2 separate regions of the Homo sapiens genome follow, and region 1 is linked to region 2. Evidence: promoter capture Hi-C in human tissues and cell types (Jung and others, 2019). All regions are on one chromosome and are shown on one strand. Each heading gives the region's core, a stretch centred on a gene start or on the middle of the fragment in contact. The rest is flanking DNA. Distances are from core to core; before and after follow the strand shown.

Evidence for each region. The method cuts DNA at HindIII sites, captures the fragments that hold promoters and counts their contacts. A contact is called where the count stands out against the background at its distance.
Region 1: the fragment with the promoter of S100A2 here is called in contact with a fragment that was not itself captured in region 2 in 4 of the 25 tissues and cell types used here (liver, mesendoderm cells, pancreas and 1 more).

What each region holds. Positions count from the first base shown.
Region 1 is chr1:153,563,766-153,567,163 of GRCh38, forward strand. S100A2 (S100 calcium binding protein A2) reads right to left here and starts at 2,079. Exons shown (of 3, transcript NM_005978.4): 1 at 1,741-2,079; 2 at 1-122. The coding sequence starts at 112. RefSeq lists enhancers at 436-1,193, 1,194-1,951, 2,071-2,130, 2,104-3,303, 3,001-3,240. The HindIII fragment of the contact is 11,510 bases long and covers 1-3,398 here.
Region 2 is chr1:153,465,410-153,468,847 of GRCh38, forward strand. It overlaps LOC124904422 (a long non-coding RNA gene), which reads right to left and starts at 701. Exons shown (of 2, transcript XR_007066629.1): 1 at 530-701. The HindIII fragment of the contact is 3,611 bases long and covers 1-3,144 here.

The sequences.
Region 1 (3,398 bases), core at 829-3,328, 99 kb after region 2:
GTTCCTTCATTTCCCCCTTACTCAGCTTGAACTTGTCGCCCTCTTGGCAGGAGTACTTGTGGAAGGTAGTGACCAGCACAGCCAGCGCCTGCTCCAGAGAACTGCACATCATGGATCTGTGGCTGCAGAGGTGCCAGGTGATGGGTACACTGCTGAGGCTCTTGGGGCCTTAGCTCAGCCTGTAGGATCCACTTCTGCCCTATGCCCCCAAGCCACCTCACAAAACCCCTCTCTGAATGGGAAGGCAGGGGCTGCATCTCCCCCTCAGACTGTGGTTCCCTGAGGCCGGAGGCGATACCTCCATCTCACCCTGAGGGCAGACGCTAAAGCTTCCCTTGTGTCTGGGAGTCACCAAGCCTCCTCTGATGGCACTTGGGACACCCCCCTGAGGGCAGGGCTCCCCATTTTAGTGTCTGCCAGAAGGGAAATGACAGGGTGACCAGAGTCCCATTTTGATGGCATCTGCGCAGGCTCTGGGGAGCAGGGCCACATGCACCGGCTGGCAGATGGGGGCTCCTGTGCAGTCTGGCAGGAGCCATGGCTACAGCCTAGGAGCAGGAAGCTCCCTGAAGGAGTCGTTTCCCTCCTTAGACTCGGGACTCCTGAAGCCAGAGGCATCTCTCTCTGCCATCTAACTGGAAGCTCCCTTGGGCAGGAGTGTTTCCTCTCTCAGACTAGGAGCTCCCAGAGGGTGGGGAATGTGTCTCCCCTCACCCTGAAGGCCCCTGAGCCTCTAGGCAGACAGGGGCATGGATAGGGTGGGGGCAACTTAACATTCTCTCCACCAGGAAGGATCCTGTTGGAATTAGAATTAAAGATATGAAATGTTCATTGCCTTGGGATCAGGATGGGACAGACCTCAGCGGCAAGGCCTCTGAGAATACTCAGACCAGCCTGGAAAGGTTAGGCAGGTTTCAGGGTGAGGCCAGAGGAGCTATGCCAGAGGCAGGGCATGCCCTGGGCCCATCATGCCAGCCCTGCCTTCACCGAGGCAGGGGGCAGAGCTTTGCTGCTTGGGGCCATGACCCAGGCAGAGTCTTGAGACCCCTGCCTCTTGCACCTTAGTCCTGCTAGAATCCAGGACTTTGCAAAAAAAAAAAAAAATCTCAGGATTCTTTTTGCAGCAACGCCCACATGCACACCTCCTGCTCCTAGGCCTAGACCCCCAAAGAAGGGCCCCTAGACTGAGATATCCAGGGGAGGGCCTCAGAGCAACCCCTGCACTGAGACCTCACAGAGGAACCTGGAGAAAAACCCTTCAGTCGGCCGGGCGCGGTGGCTTACTCCTGTAATCCCAGCACTTTGGGAGGCCGAGATGGGTGGATCACGAGATCAGGAGATCGAGACCATCCTGGCTAACATGGTGAAACCCCATCTCTACTAAAAATACAAAAAAATTAGCCGGGCATGGTGGTGGGCGCCTGCAGTCCCAGCTACTCGGGAGGCTGAGGCAGGAGAATGGCGTGAACCTGGGAGGGGGAGTTTGCAGTGAGCTGAGATCACACCACTGTACTCCAGCCTGGGCGACAGAGCGAGACTCCATCTCAAAAAAAAAAAAAAAAAAAAAAAACCCTTCAGTCAACACTTCAGCACTTCACAGAGAGTTCTTCCAAGGGGGAAGGCCCAGAGAGGCCCAGGTTGATCCCACCAGGGAAGCTGGAATGAGAGAACTGTGGAGACAAAGACAGAGACCCACGGGGATCCTCCCCACCCTGCCCTCAGCAGGACAGAGGTACTCACCAGACCAGGTGGCAGAGACAGACCCAGGAAGGAGAGCAAGGCAGCCAGGCTCCCAGGGTGAGGATTTATATGTGGGCCCCACTGGCCCCCAACTTGGCATTTTAAGGAAACCAAACCTGCCTCAACCTGATCCCACCAAACCCTGGCCTCTTGCCATTCCCACTCATTCCCTCCCAGCCCCCTCCCTCCCAGAGAGTGCCAGCTCCACCACCAGCTGGGGGAGGGCTCTAGGCCAGGTCAAGGGCAGCCCCTGAGCCCACCCAGGCCACAGTGGGAAGTGGGAGGTGTCGTGGGGACTGGGCATCCTGGACCGGGGTGAGGGGAGGCAACCCCTGCTCTGGGGCCTGGAGACTGGTGCCAGGCCTCATTCTCATGACATGCCTGTGAGTCACAGCCCACTCCTGTGTGAGAGGCTGTGAGCACACGCTGAGACTTCATGGTCCAGTGCTCGTGTACATACATGCGCCCGTGTGTGTGAGAGAGAAGCAACCTGGGGCCACCCTTAGGAAGCTGGGGGCCAGAGGAGGCAGCTGGGGGACATCAGGAGGAGAAGGACAGGACTGACTTCAGGGCATGGATGAAGTGGAGTGACTTTTAATGGCCAGCACCAGAATACCTCTTAATGAGGTAATGAGGTAACTAAGTGTGCTTAGAAATACCTGGGAAGGTCCCTCTGTGTAGGAAGGTGTCTGGAAGGATGGGGAAGCAGTGAGAAATGGGGTTGCTCTACACACAGCCGCAGTTGGGCTGGGCCACAGTCTGTGGGGAGCATAAGGAAGTCCCGAGTAGTTAAAGGCTGAACAGGAAAACTTTGGCCTCCTCTTCTCCAGCTTGAGGGCTGGGTGGGTGGGTAGGGGTACATCCCTACCCAAGGCTGAAAACACCAGCTGGACAGCTTCCCAAGCCAGAATCCAGGCCTGAAGCACAGCCCTCAGCCACAGCCCTCTCTCACTGCCCCCCACACACATGTCCTCCCCAGACCCGGAGAAAGGCAAACACTGTGGCCATTCAGAGCCCAGCCCAAGGGAGGGCTGCCCCCTCCCAGGGCCCCTTCCTCCTTGGCCCTTTGTCTATCCCGGCCCGTCTGGGCATCAGGGCACCGCCCTTCCTGTGGCCCCAGCTCCCCTCCCTGCTCCAGCTGTCGAGTAGCTTCTTCCCCTCCCCCAGCCCCTCTACCTCAGCCCTAAGTGACTCACCCGAGGTTCCAGGCCCAGATGCCCAGGCAGTGACTCAGCGGCACACCCTCCTCCCCCAGGGCCAGGGCAGCAGCAGTCCCAGAGCAGTAGGTGGAAGCCCCAGCCCAGCCTGGCAGGGAAAGCACTGGCACAGAGACCCCAAACAGGCCCTGCCAGGAGGAGCTTTGGATAATGACATGGCAGGAGGATCAGACTGAGAACAGGCTGGTCCCTTCCTAGCGGTCACCGTGTGACTTGGGGGCCAGCCTGAGCAGTGTACATGAAGTCAGGCCTTGGGGCCCCCAGTGTCCTCTTCTACACCTTGGCACAGCCACCGAGTGTCCCTTGCTCCCCTCAGTACTTGAACCCCTCATGCTACTTGTCTTCCCATCGAGGCCTACTTCAAGTAGAACTCGGAATAAAAACCCTTCACACTGAGGGTGAGGGACAAGGGAGCGCAATGCATCGATTTTCACAGCCATT
Region 2 (3,438 bases), core at 89-2,588:
TTAGGCAGGATGTTTCTCACGGCCTGAATCCACATGGAATGTTTCACTCTGACCAGGGTCCGCAAAATGGCAGGGGGCTTACAAAATGGTGCAGTTTGGACTAACACCCACCATCCTGTCGAATGGGTTTGCTGGGAGGATTTACTGTCAATTCTGTTAGCCTGATAAGGGAGGTTGCTTTCTCGGAGGCCGCATACACAGACAGTGCTGGGAAGTGACCCATGCGTACCCTGAGAAATGTATCTGTTCAACCAAATTTCAAGTTGGCAATGATCATTCTTCGTCTCGCCCAATTTCAAGAGGAGGCTGGGCCCTGTAGGTTAAAACTGGAAAGCTGGAGAAAGCAGTGGAGGTCACTCCAGGAAGACTCCCTGGCCAAAGAGGACTGTAGGATTCTGACTTACAGTCAGGGCTGTTTCCGTTACAGTTGGCCCCAGTCAGAGACCCAGGATGAAACTCTGGCCCTGAGCGCGGAGAATAGGTTTTCTGTTTCCCAAGCTTCCACACGGTGGCGCCACCGAGCACCCACCTCGCCAGAGTTGCGAGGCGGTTCCACGTGGCTGGGCCGTCCTTGCCGGTTCTCGCCCTTATTTAGGTTGTGTGTCCCACTTCGGGCAGCAGTCTTGCAGCTTTTTAAAAAAGAGATCTTCACCAAAAGCTCCTGAAGGGCAGAGGGCTTTTCTTATTTAATTTGCATTCTTCTCTCTGCAATGCCTACCAGAGGGCGCTGCACAAAATCATGTATTGGGGATGCAATTGTTAATCGAGTTGGTAGAAACAGGAATAAATTAAAATAATTAAATTTTTAGTAATGGTGGGTTACGTAAATCTTGATGCCTATACACATGGAATCCCTGTGATGATACGAAATGGACATTTGGTCTTTGTCCCTGTTCCTGACACCAAGCGTCTGAAATCCTTGGAATCTCCCGAATGACAGGGGAGAGGGAGCATCTTTTGTTATTCATAACAACCCCCTTCCTGCCATACTGAGTGTGTGCTAATGAGGTGACTCTTGGTGGACCCCTAAATAGCTTCAGGATGGGGCTGGTTGCCAGAGGAAGCAACCATGTGATTACAGGGCTGGAGCTTTCAGCCCCAGGCTGGGCCTCCAGGGAGCGGCTGGGGAAGGACTTCAATCACCAGTGGCCAATTATTTAATCAACCATGCCTAAATGAAGTGACTGCCATAGAAACCCCAAACGATGGGGCTCAGAGAGCTGTCGGGCTGCTGAGTGGGTGGGGTGCCAGAAGGGTGGGCGCCTGGGGTGGGCCTTGAAGCTCCGTGCTGCCCCTCATACATGGCCCTGCGTGTCTCTTCCACGTGGCTTTTCCTGAGTTGCATTCTTTGTAGTAAACCAGTAATCATGAGTAAAGTGCCTCCCTGAGTCCCGTGAACTCTTGTAGCAGATTATCTAACCTGAGGAGGGGATTTGTAGGAACCTCCAATTTTAGCCAGTTAGTCAGAAGTATGGGCGGTCAGGTGCTGCGACTGGCATCTGAAGTGGGGGCAGTGTTGTGGGGCTGAGCCTTCACCTTGTGGGGTCTGTGCTAACTCTGGGTAGTTAGGATCAGAACGGAATTGCATGATACCCCGACAGTGTTCAGACAGTTGGAGAATTGGTTGGTGTGGGGATTTTTAAAAAAGGAAATATAACCCCCACACATTTGGCATCAGAAGTGTTGTGAGTCAGAATGGTTCAGGAATTCCATACAATGTAGCTATCTAGAATCAAGCACTCAGAAAATATTTAAGAACTGGGGAAATGTTTTAAAAATAGTCCTAATTGAAAAAGCAGATGATAAAGCAGCCGGGAAAAGGCAAAGCCGTGCCACAGGGTGGACGTGGAGTGGGGGTGGGGAGGGGGTTAATGTGACATGATTGCTCCACATGAGACAAGGCCACAGAACTCAGGAAACAAAGCTTGTTTTGAGCAAGAGTCCTGTCAGATTTTGACAGGAGGCAGAGCAGAGAGAAGATATCTTTACATAGGTGAAGCTAACAGTTCATGATAAAGTGTTCTCAGCCTTCACATTCACAGTCAACAGATTTTCAACAAGCCCGCCAAGCCAATTCAATGGAGAAAGAATAGTCTTTCCAACAAATGATGCTGGGACAAGTGGACAGCCACATGCAAAATAATGAAGCTGGACCCCTTCCTTCCTTCATACGCACAAATTAACTCAGAATAGGTCACAGCCCTACACATAAGAGCTAAAACAAACTCTTAGAAGAAAATATAGAAGTAAATCTTCAAGACTGAGGTCTTGAATATCTTTGCATATGCTACTGAGGCTTTATGACTTTACTTTCCACAGTTAGACCTACAATCCACTTGGAATTGTCATTTTGTCTGCTTGTGTGGTCTAGTTTCATGAGCATGAGCATCCAGTTGATCCAGTAAAATGTATTGAGAAGCTTGTGCTCAGCAGTGCCACTTTTGTCACAGAATAAATATACCATACGTGTGTGTCTTTTTCTCAGGCCTCTATTTAGTTCTGTTGATCTATGTGACTGTCATTGAACCAGCCCAGCAGTATCTGTTACCAGGGCTATTGTGATAAATCTTAACATCTAGTACTGTAGATCCTCCCATCTTTTTCATAATTGTCTTGGGTATTATTGGCCTTTCCATATGTTTTTTAGAGTTAACTTGTCAATTTCTACAAAAATTCCAGCAAGGACTTTGGGATTGGGATTGCACTGAATCTACAGGTTGTGTTTGGGAGAACTGACAGCTTTACAATAGCAGAGTGTTCCAGTCCATGAACGTGGTATATCCCTTACTAAAAACCTTTCAGTCGTTTCCCATCCTGCTTAAAGTTCAAATTTTGCGAAGTCCTCATTGGCTTGTCCTCTGCCTGCCGCTCAGACCTCATTTCCTGTCTCTCTGAACTCCATTTACACCACTCCAGCCCTTCTTTCTGCCCCTCCGTCAGCCCAGGCTGGCTCCTACCTGAGCACTTCTGTTCCAGCTCTTTCCTCTAACCATCGAGCCCTTCTCCTGCTCTCCCCAAGGTTGGATCCCCTGTTATTTATTCTGAGCCAAATATAAGTGACCGTGGCCCATGACACAGGCCGAGGAGGGTGGATCACCTGAGGTCAGGAGTTGGAGACCAGCCTGGCCAACATGGCAAAACCCCATCTCTTCTAAAAATACAAAAATTAGCCAGGTGTGGTGGTGGGTGCCTGTATTCCCAGCTACTCGGGAGGCTGAAGCAGGAGAATCACTTGAACCCAGGAGGCAGAGGTTACAGTGAGCTGAGATCGCACCACTGCACTCCAGCCAGGGAGATAGAGCGAGACTCGGTCTCAAAAAAAAAAAAGAAAGAAAGAAAGATTTAAAAGGTCTGTAAAGAAGAAAGTATGAATAAGCTAGTGAGAACTGGCAAAAATCCCAAAAGGAGCCTCAATATTTAATCAGTATAACCTGATTC